Linked DNA regions of Homo sapiens: region 2 is linked to region 1. The links are contacts of gene promoters, found by promoter capture Hi-C in blood cells and fetal thymus (Javierre and others, 2016). All regions are on one chromosome and are shown on one strand. Each heading gives the region's core, a stretch centred on a gene start or on the middle of the fragment in contact. The rest is flanking DNA. Distances are from core to core; before and after follow the strand shown. Region 1 holds the start of POLR3B (RNA polymerase III subunit B). Region 2 overlaps PRDM4 (PR/SET domain 4).

Evidence for each region. The method cuts DNA at HindIII sites, captures the fragments that hold promoters and counts their contacts. A CHiCAGO score of 5 or more calls a contact.
Region 2: a fragment that was not itself captured here is called in contact with the fragment with the promoter of POLR3B in region 1 in 1 of 17 cell types (naive CD4 T cells); the score reaches 5.4 in naive CD4 T cells.

What each region holds. Positions count from the first base shown.
Region 1 is chr12:106,353,548-106,359,063 of GRCh38, reverse strand. It overlaps POLR3B (RNA polymerase III subunit B), which reads right to left and starts at 1,316. Exons shown (of 28, transcript NM_018082.6): 1 at 1,113-1,316. The coding sequence starts at 1,184. The HindIII fragment of the contact is 8,226 bases long and covers 1-5,516 here.
Region 2 is chr12:107,754,479-107,760,310 of GRCh38, reverse strand. PRDM4 (PR/SET domain 4) reads left to right here. Exons shown (of 12, transcript NM_012406.4): 3 at 3,346-3,479. PRDM4-AS1 (PRDM4 antisense RNA 1) reads right to left here. Exons shown (of 5, transcript NR_120474.1): 4 at 1,919-2,036; 5 at 343-539. Among named protein-coding and RNA genes, the nearest start is that of PRDM4, 3.7 kb to the left of the region's middle. The HindIII fragment of the contact is 238 bases long and covers 2,774-3,011 here.

The DNA.
Region 1 (5,516 bases), core at 67-2,566:
GTATTATTTGTAGAAACAGGGTTTTGCCATGTCGCCCAAGCTGTTCTCAAACTCTTGAGCCCAAGTGATCCGCCCGCCTTGGCCTCCCAAACTACTGGTATTACAGGCCACCACGCCTAGCCAAGGAGGTTCTTATAATCCGATAGACTTACTGATCATGTCACTTTCCTGCTTAAACCCTTCAAAAGCTCTGCTCCAAGACAAAGTCCAAGCTCTGTCAGATGTTTATTGAAACTTTTCATAATCAAGACCCTTACTTAACCCTGTCTTTTATCTCTTCTCCTCTATTTTTCTTCACTCTAATACTACTGGATTTACTTTCCTTCCTCAAAAACATCCAATGGTCTTGCCGAGGAGGTTTCAAGTATCCTGTTCTCTTTCCCTGAAATCTCTCCTTTGCTATCTTCTCCGGCCACGTCTCCACTTCCCTATTCCACGTCAGTGTAGATTTTGAGGCTCAGAGAGATTACAAAATGTGCCTTATCAGATAACAAAATATGTCGACAGCCGCACTTCACTGGGCAGCTCGCTGTGGGGCAGCTGTCCTTAACTTCCGAGAAGCTGATGAAAGCTGTGGAGTCTCTCCCCCAGAAAACACACAGGCAAATTCTTTAGTAAATATTGAGGGCGTTTAAAATTCCCCTGCAACCCAAACTGGAACTTCAAGTTAAAAGGAAAGATGACTAGCTTGGAATTCAGACGATCTGGTTTTACCCCCACAGCCGGCTGTGGTGCCTCATGCAAATGGCCTGAGCTCCCTGGCCCCGTGTCCTCTGTAAGACTGCAAACATGCAATACGTCCCCCACAGTAAGTGCGAGGGTCAGTCCTCCCCACGCACACCTATGCTGGAAGAGCTCCAACCCTAGAGCCAGCAGCGGGGCTTCTCGGCCCCCGCAGCGGCTGACAGCTCCTCTGGGATCAGCCTTCACTCGCGCACGCGGAGGCCGGCTCTGGAAAAAAGACTCGCAAGCGCGACGCTCTGGGCATGCGCAGAAGCCCGGCGCATGCGCACAAACCGCCAGCCCGCCCCCTTGGCGGCCCGAGCACTCCGGGCAACGCCCCCTCAGGGCGCATCCTTGTCCCTGACGCTCCCTGCGTGCCTGGCACTGACCTCTACAGTCGGGATCGGCGCCGCCAGCTGCTCCGGAGTCAGGTTCCCAAACTCCTCCGCTAGCACGTCCATGCTGCTCACGAAGGAGGAAGAAACAGATAGAACCTCCGCGCCCGCCTTCCCTGCACCAAGCAAACTGCAAGACTCCCGGCGAACGGTGCGCGGAGGCCTAAACTGTCCCCGCCGTGCGTGTTAGCTAGAGACGCGGTAGAAAGGTTCCGCCCGCTCCCTGCCCGAATCTGCGGTGGAACCCGGATGTGGCCGAGGCCGAGTAAGGAAAGTACGCCCTCTGGTGTAGCTCGGAGGTCTGGCGCAGGGAATCCTAAGCCCCAGCTGTCAGGTTTCTTGCCAATTCTCTGGTAATTGAGACCAGCAAAACATAGTGGTTGTCATTTTAAAAGTAATCCGAAGAAAAGTGTAAACGCATAATTTACGCAACTTGAACCACTGAGGCAGAGAATTATTTAATGTAGTCCAAAATTCTATGCATTGTTTAGTATGGAAGAGCAGGAAACGTCCCAAATGCCTACCAATAGAAGATTGATTAAATAAATGATGGTACATGCGTGTAATGGAAGAGTGTTGAAAATTCTCAAAAGCACTAGATGGAAGATGTAGGAGTAAATACCCAGCGCATGGAGAAATTTAATATGAAAAGATGACATTTACGTTAGTAGGGGAAGGATGGCCTGTCCAGTAAATAATGTTTGAAGAGCTGATTACCCATTTGGGGAAAAAATACATGTAAGTGAATCTTTTGTGGATTAAATATTGAAATGTTAACAAAAACTTAGAAGAAAATGTAAGTGCAGATATTCATAACATTGAGATGTTGAAGACTTTCAAGACGGCAACAGTCAAATCATAAAGGATTTTATAATCTAAACACGATTTTATGATTCCACGGAAAATTTTTAATTTTCTGAACAGATTTTAAAAAATCACCAACAAATAGAATTAATAAAAAATAAATTGGCAGAAGACAAAGGGCTGGTCTCTCTAATTTAAAATGAGCTCATACAAATCAACAGAAAGAAAAATCCTATTAGAAAAAACAAGGCAAAATGCACCAATTAATTAATGGGTACGGAGTTTCGGTTTGGGAAGATGCAAAAGTTCTGTAAATGGAGAATGGTGATGGTTGCACAACAGTGTGAATGTATTTAATGCTGCTGACCTGTACATCATTTTAAAGGGTTAAAATGCTAAGTTTTATGTATATTTTACAACGATAAGAAAAGTTATGAAAATTTGTAAGTACATATATGCTTTCCAATTTCTCCCTCATAAAGGTAGAACCCTTGCACCAGGTTAATTATTCTTATTTACTAAAGAGCTACTTAAATTTCAGTACTTGTATTTTCTTTTTTTTTTTTTTTTTTTTTTTTTTTGAGACGGAGTCTCGCTCTGTCGCCCAGGTGGGACTGCGGACTGCAGTGGCGCAATCTCGGCTCACTGCAAGCTCCGCTTCCCGGGTTCACGCCATTCTCCTGCCTCAGCCTCCCGAGTAGCTGGGATTACAGGCGTGAGCCACCGCGCCCGGCCGTATTTTCTAAGTATTGCACTGATATCTGAAATACGAGAAGAATGGAAAAAACACCAAAAGTAGAATCAACCCTGCCTTTGAAGTTCTTACAATTTACTTATTACAGAGACAAGATACAACTTGTGTCTCATCATTGTGCATTACCAGATTGCAACCAATTTAGCATCTAGCCTAGAAGGGACTGTGAAAGTGATTTATAGATGGCAGAGGATCTCAAGGTTGGCTCAAGTGTGTTGGTTGTCTGTGCCAAAGTCTTCTTTGCTTTCCATTATCAAGGTGATTCTCCGACTTTAGGGTGTATCAGAATCACCTGGAGAGCTTGTTAAACTAATCTCAGCTTTCTGATTGGTAAATTGGGGCTGAAATTTTGCTTTTTTGGTGGGGGGCGGGGATGGAGTCTTACTCTGTCGTCCAGGCTGGAGTGCAGTAGTGCAATCTTAGCTCACTGTACCCTCCCAGGTTCAAGCGATTCTCCTGCCTCAGCCTCCCGAGTAGCTGGGATTACAGGCGCGTGCCACCATACTCAGGTAATTTTTGTATTTTTAGTAGAGACGGGGTTTCGCCATATTGGCCAGTTTGGGCTCAAACTCCTGACCTCAGGTGATCCGCCTGCCTCGGCTTCCCAAAGTGCTGGGATTTCAGGCGTGAGCCACCGCGCTGGCTGCAAATTTGCATTTTTTTTTTTTTTTTGAGACAGAGTCTCACTCTGTCACCCAGGCTGGAGTGCAGTGGCTCGGTCTTGGCTCACTGCAACCTCAGCCTCCTGGGTTCAAGTGATTCTCCTGCCTCAGCCGCCTTAGTAGCTGGGACTACAGGCATGCGCCACCACACCCGTCTAAATTTTTATTTTTAGTAGAGACGGGGTTTCACCATGTTGGCCAGGCTGGTCGCGAACTCCATACCTCAGGTGATCCGCCTGCCTCGGCCTTCCAAAGTGCTGGGATTACAGGCGTGAGCCACCACTCCCGGCCTGCAAATTTGCGTTTCTAGTAAGTTCCCTGCTGTTGCTTTCCAGTGATTATGCTTTGGAAATCACTAACCTAAGACTTATCACTCAATGCCATATCCTCTTTTTATGTGTCTCATTATCCAGACTGAGCTCTTGGTACGGGAACTATCTTGTTTGTCTTTGTGTTTCCAACTTCTAACCCATCAGTTGTTCCTGAATATATTTGTGTTGAATGAGTGAGTTGAAAGAAAAAATGCAACGAATGGGTGATGTTTGATATTATACTCACTTTTTAAGAATCCTGATTGTTTTTAGTTTCTCTTCAAAAGCAGGAGGCTCTGGTAGCCATGGTCCCAAAGTCCTATACGGCAACAATCGGCTAATGCTGAACGGTGTTGGCCCTTAGACCATAGCTGCCACAGTCCCTCATAGTCCTTCCCCCAGATCAAATCTATAACTTCTTTCTGATACCCTAAGGGACTGGAGTTTTGAAACCAAGAAGCCAGGAACAGTCTCAGCATTTCTTTGTTTTCTGCTGCCATGTCCTTTTCCTGAGGTATTAGTACAAAAAGACCAGTGGTTTGAATAGAGGGGTGGGAAATTAGGGAAAAGAGATCACAAGGCTGGGCGCGGTGGCTCACGCCGCCTGTAATCCCAGCACTTTGGGAGCCCGAAGCAGTGGATCATGAGGTCAGGAGTTTGAGACCAGCCTGGCCAACATGGTGAAACCCTGTCTCTACTAAAAGTACAAAAATTAGCCCGAGGTGGTGGCGCACATCTGTAATCCCAAATACTCGGGAGGCTGAAGCAGGAGAATTGCTTGAACCTGGGAGGCAGAGGTTGCAGTGAGCCGAGATCACGCCATTGCACTCCAGCCTGGGCGACAAGAGCAAGACTCCGTCTCAAAAAAAAAAAAAAAAAAAAATCACAGAAGGAAAAATGGTTAACATGTTGGAATACTATCTTATCACTTAATGTACAATGGCTTATGGTAGCCAGATGAAAAATTGACCAGTGCCATGGGGGAATAGGGGATCTTGTTTAAGGGAGAGCAAGGAAAAAGGAAAGGCAGAGGTGTCCAAGCTGGGCCTTGAAATATTAACATTTACCGAGTGTTTACTCTTAGGCATTGCAATGACCACTTGATGTGCATTCTCTAATTGAGTGCTGAACCCCGGGGATAAGTATGATTATCCCCACTTGAAAGGTAAAGAGACTAAGGCTCACAGGGGTTAAGACACTTGCCCAAGCAGAGCTGGAATTTAAATCCATAATTATTTGACCCCAGAACCCATGCTTTTAACCACTCTATCATAACGCCATACCAAAAGCATGGGGTAGCGGAAAACGTTTCAAGTAGGGAAACACAGCGTGAGCAATGGCATGAGGGCATTAGAGTACATTATACCACATTCTGACAATTGAGTGTGGTTCTCACATAGGGCTTTTCAAGGGACGTGTCTGTAGATGACACTAGAAAGATCCACTGGAGCTGTACCATCACGGACTGTTATGCCCTGTAAAAAAAATTAGACCATGCTCTGAGAGGCTTCAACATGAAGGTGCTAGAAACAAAAGAAAAAGATTATCTTCCTTTCTTGAAACCTTGATGCATTCAGACTGGGAAAAAAGATACATATGGTTCTGATTTCTATGTCTCAATTAATTCATAATAGAACTAGAGAAGACCAGAAACAATGTCAGAGAAAGAATAAGGACTCTTCAGTCTCAAAAGGCAACAGCAGAGGGAGAGCCCTTGAAGTCAGAACATTCTGCATTTTAGGCAAGACTGGATAGTCCAAAAACTTTCAGCTGCCTGCCATGCCCCCAGACCTTTCTTTGTGGATGTGATCTTATTATCCTATCAAAACCAATAGGGCCGGGTACCTGCCCAGGACAGCCATGTGGG
Region 2 (5,832 bases), core at 1,643-4,142, 1.4 Mb before region 1:
TGTTCCCAGTAGCCACACGTTTATTGTTGGCTTGTTGACACCTTTTCCTGTGTCTTTCAGTTATTTGAGCGTTTAATATATTTTTCCGGATTCCAACGTGTATTGTTATCTTATTATGCTTCACCTTGAGTTTTGCTGGTATGGCAGGGACGATAGTGAGGGAATTAAGTTCTTAATTCTGCAAGCTTCATGCTGATGTTTAAGTACAGAAGCAGGCCACAGAAATTGTTGCATTTGGCTGTTTTTTCAAGGCCCTTTCAAAGGCCGTATGTTTAGAATAAGGAAGATAAGGCACAAATTCATTGAAATTATTGAAGCCCCACTGCATTTTTCAAAGTGGCTGCATTTCAGTTAGTTTATTATATTTTATGCGAAGAAAAAGGTGTAAAATCAGCAACTGGCAGATGGTTGCATAGGTCAGTTAGAAACACACACATAAACTGTAGAACTGTGTAGGAAATTATTTTACCCTAAATGAGTAGGGAAGATAGAGCTTAGTATCTTGATTCTTGCCTTCTTCCGGGATTGCTTCTTAGAATCTCATAGGAGAAAGAAAATGAGAATAGAACTGCATTTTAGAATGAGAAAGTCTTATGAGGATCATATTGTACATTCCCTTCATCTGCCTTCTCTCTGTGGGATACTCATTACCTTTGGTTTATGGCTGCTGAGGTCATCACGTTTTAGTGACTCACAACAAAGCAGAAATCTGCTGAGCCTCTCGCATTAAACTCTGGTTTGAACTGGTTTGAGAAGGCCTAGGAGTCAACCTAGAAACACCATGCTGATTTTTATCTTGAAATTAAATAAATATTCAGGAATTTTCAGAATGAGAGTTGAAGGTGCAGACTTGTAGTTGTACTTTTAAAAAAATATTGTAACCAATTTGTTAAGTAGGCTGTTACAGCTGTAGTGATTGTAGTGTTTTAATTATGGTTGTAGCTATAAAGAGTTAGGGAAAAGTCTGTTTTAAACCAACTCAAGCCCAGCAACTTTCAAAATTAAGGTAGATATGTTTTCTTTAGGCTACAGGGATTTTTTGCTTTTTTTGTTTTTAAGACACAGTCTCACTCTGTCACCCCAGCTGGCGTGTAGAGGTACAGGCAGAGCTCACTGTAGCCCCGACCTCCCCACTTCAGCCTCCCCTGTAGTTGGAACCACAAGCACGAACCACCATGCCTGGCTAAGTTAAAAAAAATGTTTAGTAGAGACAGGGGTCTCACTGTGTTGCCTAGGGACGTCTCCAAGTCCTGGGCTCAAGCGATCCTTCTGCCTTGGCCTCCCAAAGTGTGGGATTACAGGTGTAAATCACCACACCTGGGCTGCTTTATTTTATAGCATAATAAAAACTGTTATTAGCATGCTGTTCTTCATAAGGTGTACCTCATTTGCCAGGTGCTTCTAGCTGTCTTTCTGGTAAGGGTGATGAGTTTGCATAGCTCCATCCGATAAAATAAGAAAATTCAGAATGTCTGTTCTATACAAGGTACTAGGTTGGCCTTTTACATTTTATTGATGTCTTAGAGCTTAGTTTTATGGGATCCATGGCCAGGGATAAGGGTGAAACCTAATAATGCAAGAAACAGGTCTATGTGGAACTTTAAATATACGCCACAATATAAGTAGATAGGCCCTAATGTATTGCAACTGTGTAAAAGGCAATATAGTTCTTTTATTGTAATTGTCTTTTTCTTACTATAGTTAAGAGCTTTGGTTTCTTAAATTAGTTCTGAATTTAAATCCCAGCTCTCCTTACTGGTTATGTGATTCTGGGTTAAGTTTCCTAGCATCATTGAATCTTAAGTTTCCTCATCTTTAAAGTGGGATTAAGAATAATACCTACCTCCAGCCTGGGCAACATAGGGAGACCCCATCTCTGCAAAATAAAAACAAATTAGCCAGGCATGGTGGCACTTGCCTGTGGTCCCAGCTGCTTGGGGGCTGAGGTGGGAAGATCTCATGAGCCTAGGAGGTAGAGGCAGCAGTCAGCTGTGATCACGCCACTGCACTCCAGCTTGCAGCTACTGAGCAAGACCCTGTCTCAAAAACAAAAAAAAAAAAAAAAAAAAAAAGAAGATTAAGAGAGATAGTTACATATAAATCACTTAGCCCAATACATAGCACATGGTAAGGGAGCCATAAATTTTAGCTATTATTATTTTCAGGTTGATTGATAAAATGGCATTGCCATTTTTCAGAATTAAAAACCTATTTAGATTTGATTTCACTGCTAAGGAATATGTAACCTCATTTGATTCCTCTTCTCTGCTTCACCCCCTCCCATACGCAGAGAATAAAGCCCAGTGTAAGGACTGGAGGTCATTAGAGAGCCCCTTTTGGGTAACCTGTTGGCTAGCCTAGTGGTTCTGTAATGTTTATAGTATGGCAGTCTCTAAATTATGATATAAGAACTAATACTTTTTGATAACAACCTTCAGTGCTGTTTTATTCAAATCAGTATTACTCTTATTCGAAAGACATTTGTAATGGCAGTGCAAGATGGTTTGCATAGAAAAGGTGATTCCTAGGTTCTTCACCTTGCCAAAAATAGTCTGTAGTTAAAAAAAAAGTTTGGTGCAGTTAAAAAAAAGTTTGGTGCAATGAAAAACTTTTTGGCAGTGTTTTGCAGTTTGATCTGTGATCTTTCACTTAATAGCTATGTGATTTGGGGCATATGACATGGCCTCTCTGAGCCATAGTTCCCTCATCTATCTTACGTTGCAGTATTGGTGTGAGGATTTGAAGTCATTTTAAGTGAAGTGGTAGCAAAGCTTACATAATGACCCTCAATATTTGGAGGACATTAATATACTGATACAGAATCTTAGTAAACTGTTGCTGAATGGGGAAAATACGATGCTTTTCACATCATCGATAATCTGGATCTTTAACTCCTATTAAAAATGATTAGTAAAATTTACTTGAGTAGGTTAAAATGCGCTGCCTAAAACACTACTGGTTTGAAATAATAAGCCATTTGGAGAAAAATAAATATTATAAAAGATGAAGCTTGAGTGATTTAAAAAAAAACTGTCATTGCCATTGTGCTCTAAGAATTGCAGACTTTGCTTTAGATGGTGTGCCTAGAGTTTCGAACAAGGCAGAATTCAAATCCTATTTCTGCTATGTGACATTGAATTGAGTTTTTAATGTCTCAATCTCAGTTTTCTTATCAGTAGAAAGAATATGGCACTAGCTATCTAAGAGAATTGTTGAGCGTAAAAGTGAACTAATAGTTGGCCAAGTCCCATTTCCCCATCCCCACTGTTTCAGTTTCTTCAGTATCTTAATACAGAGTCATTGGAGTAAATTTTTGCATAACTAGTTGTGTGTGCTCTTTTCTAGGATGAATGAAATGAACCTGAGTCCAGTGGGGATGGAGCAGCTGACTTCATCCTCTGTGAGCAATGCCTTGCCAGTCTCAGGAAGTCACCTGGGATTGGCTGCCTCACCCACTCACAGTGCCATCCCTGCCCCAGGTGAGTGGTAAGGGAGACCTACTGCATTTCAACACTTAACTCTGTTATCAATTCTAAATGGAGTCTAGAAGAGATCAGAGCCCCTTTAAGGGTAGAAGGTAGAAGGGAGAAGGTAAGCAGGCCTGAATGGTGGTTCAACATGTGATAGGTAATGGAAAATAAGGTTTTTGTAGAGGTAGAGTATTAGAATTCTAGTGGATAGTAGCAGCAATTTTTTCTGATAGTCCTCTTCTGAGTTGGTAGCTTTTTGTCCAGAGCTGTAATTAACTTGGCATTTTATTTAGGGCTGCCCATTCATCTGGTTCACACTTCAGTACCCGTTCCCTGGGTTAATAGAAGAGAATCAGTTAAAATTACTCTAATAACTATTCCCAGAGAGCATGGGGAATTGGGCTTTATATTCCACCAGGTTTGAAATTAAATGGCAATAACTGCAAGTGTACCAGGTCTAGAATTAATGTGGAAAGAAGTGTGGTACTTTTACCTGGGGCTTTTACATGGAACGCCTCATGAGCCTCCATACACAGCAAAATCGTATAGGAAAAATTCATTCTTCCTATCCTTTTTTTTTTGAAATGGAGTCTCACTCTGTCATCCAGGCTGGAGTGCAGGGGCACGATCTCGGCTCACTGCAACCTCCGCCTCCCGGGTTCAAGTGATTCTCCTGCTTCAGCCTCCTGAGTAGCTAGGATTATAGGCATGCACCCCTACACCTGGCTCATTTTCTTTTTTTTCTTTTTTGAGATGGAGTTTCGCTCTTGTCGACCAAGGTGGAGTGCAATGGCACGATCTCGGCTCACTGCAACCTCCGCCCGCCTCCCGGGTTCAAGCAATTCTCCTGCCTCAGCATCCCGAGTAGCTGAGACTACAGGCACACGCCACCATGCTCAACTAATTTTTTGTATTTTTAGTAGAAACGGGGTTTCACCATATTAGCCAGGCTGGTCTCGAACTCCTGCCCTCAGGTGATCCGCCCTCCTCGGCCTCCCAGAGTGCTGGGATTTTAGGTGTGAGCCACCGCGCCAGCCGTCACTGTACTTTTAAAACCTTTTTTCTGCCTAGCTTCATTTTCTTATTCTATTGAAATAGAATATAAATGGAATAAATATTCTATTGATTATTACAATGATAAGCTGTCAGTTCTTTAGGATCAATGACATTGTTATGTATTGGACTTTCTTTGTCACAGTAGGAGTTAGTATAAATAAATCTATATATTGTTTAAATAGTTCTCTAAAGAGAATTACTTGCTTAATTAATAAAATGCAGCAGTTAAATAAGATTCATTGAAACTAGGGTCTCTTCACATTTGTTTAAGTGTCCACAAAAGAAATCTTAAAAAATTATTAGTGGTTAACCCACTTGATTGTTTGTAGGCATTCCCTTTAGTGGACACTCTTGTTAAGGTGGAAAAGCCTGTTAAAAAATATTGCCAGCCAGGCACAGTGGCTCACGCCTATAATCCCAGCATTTTGAGAGGCCAAGGCAGGAGGATCACTTGAGCCCAGGAGTTCAAGATCAGCCTAGGTAACATAAGGAGACCCCATCTCTACAAAGAAAAAAAAAAAAATTAGCAGCGCATGGTGGCACACACCCGTAGTCCCAGCTACGTAGGAGCTACATAGGAGGCTGAGAAGGGATGGCCACTTGAGCCAGGAAAGCTCAGGTTGCCTGAGCCATGGTCATGCTACTACGCTCCAACCTGGGCAACATAGCAAAACCTTGTCTCAAAAAAAAAAAATATTGCCCCTGGCAAAAATATGCAAATCAGCACTGACCAAGTTGGTGGGTATTTATTATGATACTTAGCCCAGTAAAAGTCACTTCACTTTGCAAGTACATATAACTCAAAGTAGATATAATCTCACGTTTAAAGCTTTTATTAATCACTAAGTGTAGCATATATACAAAAGATTGTATGAAGGTGTACATGTACAGTTTTACATCTAACTAAACTACGTTGTTTTCCAGGTAGAAATGAAATATTCTCACCATATAAAATGGTAAATACAATAAAGTTTAAAAATACCAAAAAAATTTCATACTATCACTACCTAGGGACTACTCCTATGAACATTTTATGTTTCCATTGTTTTTTTCTCTATATAATTTGTTTTCTTGTATTTAAACTCGGTTTTTAATTCTAAATTAAATATTTTGGCTGGGCATGGTGGCAATCCCCGCACTTTGGGAGGCTGAGGTGGGCAGATCACTTGAGGCCAGGAGTTCGAGACCAGCCTGGCCAACATGGTGAAACCCTGTCTCTAGCAAAAATACAAAAATTAGCTGGGTGTGGTGGTGTGTGCCTGTAATCCCAGCTACTCAGGAGGCTGAGGTAGGAGAATTGCTTGAA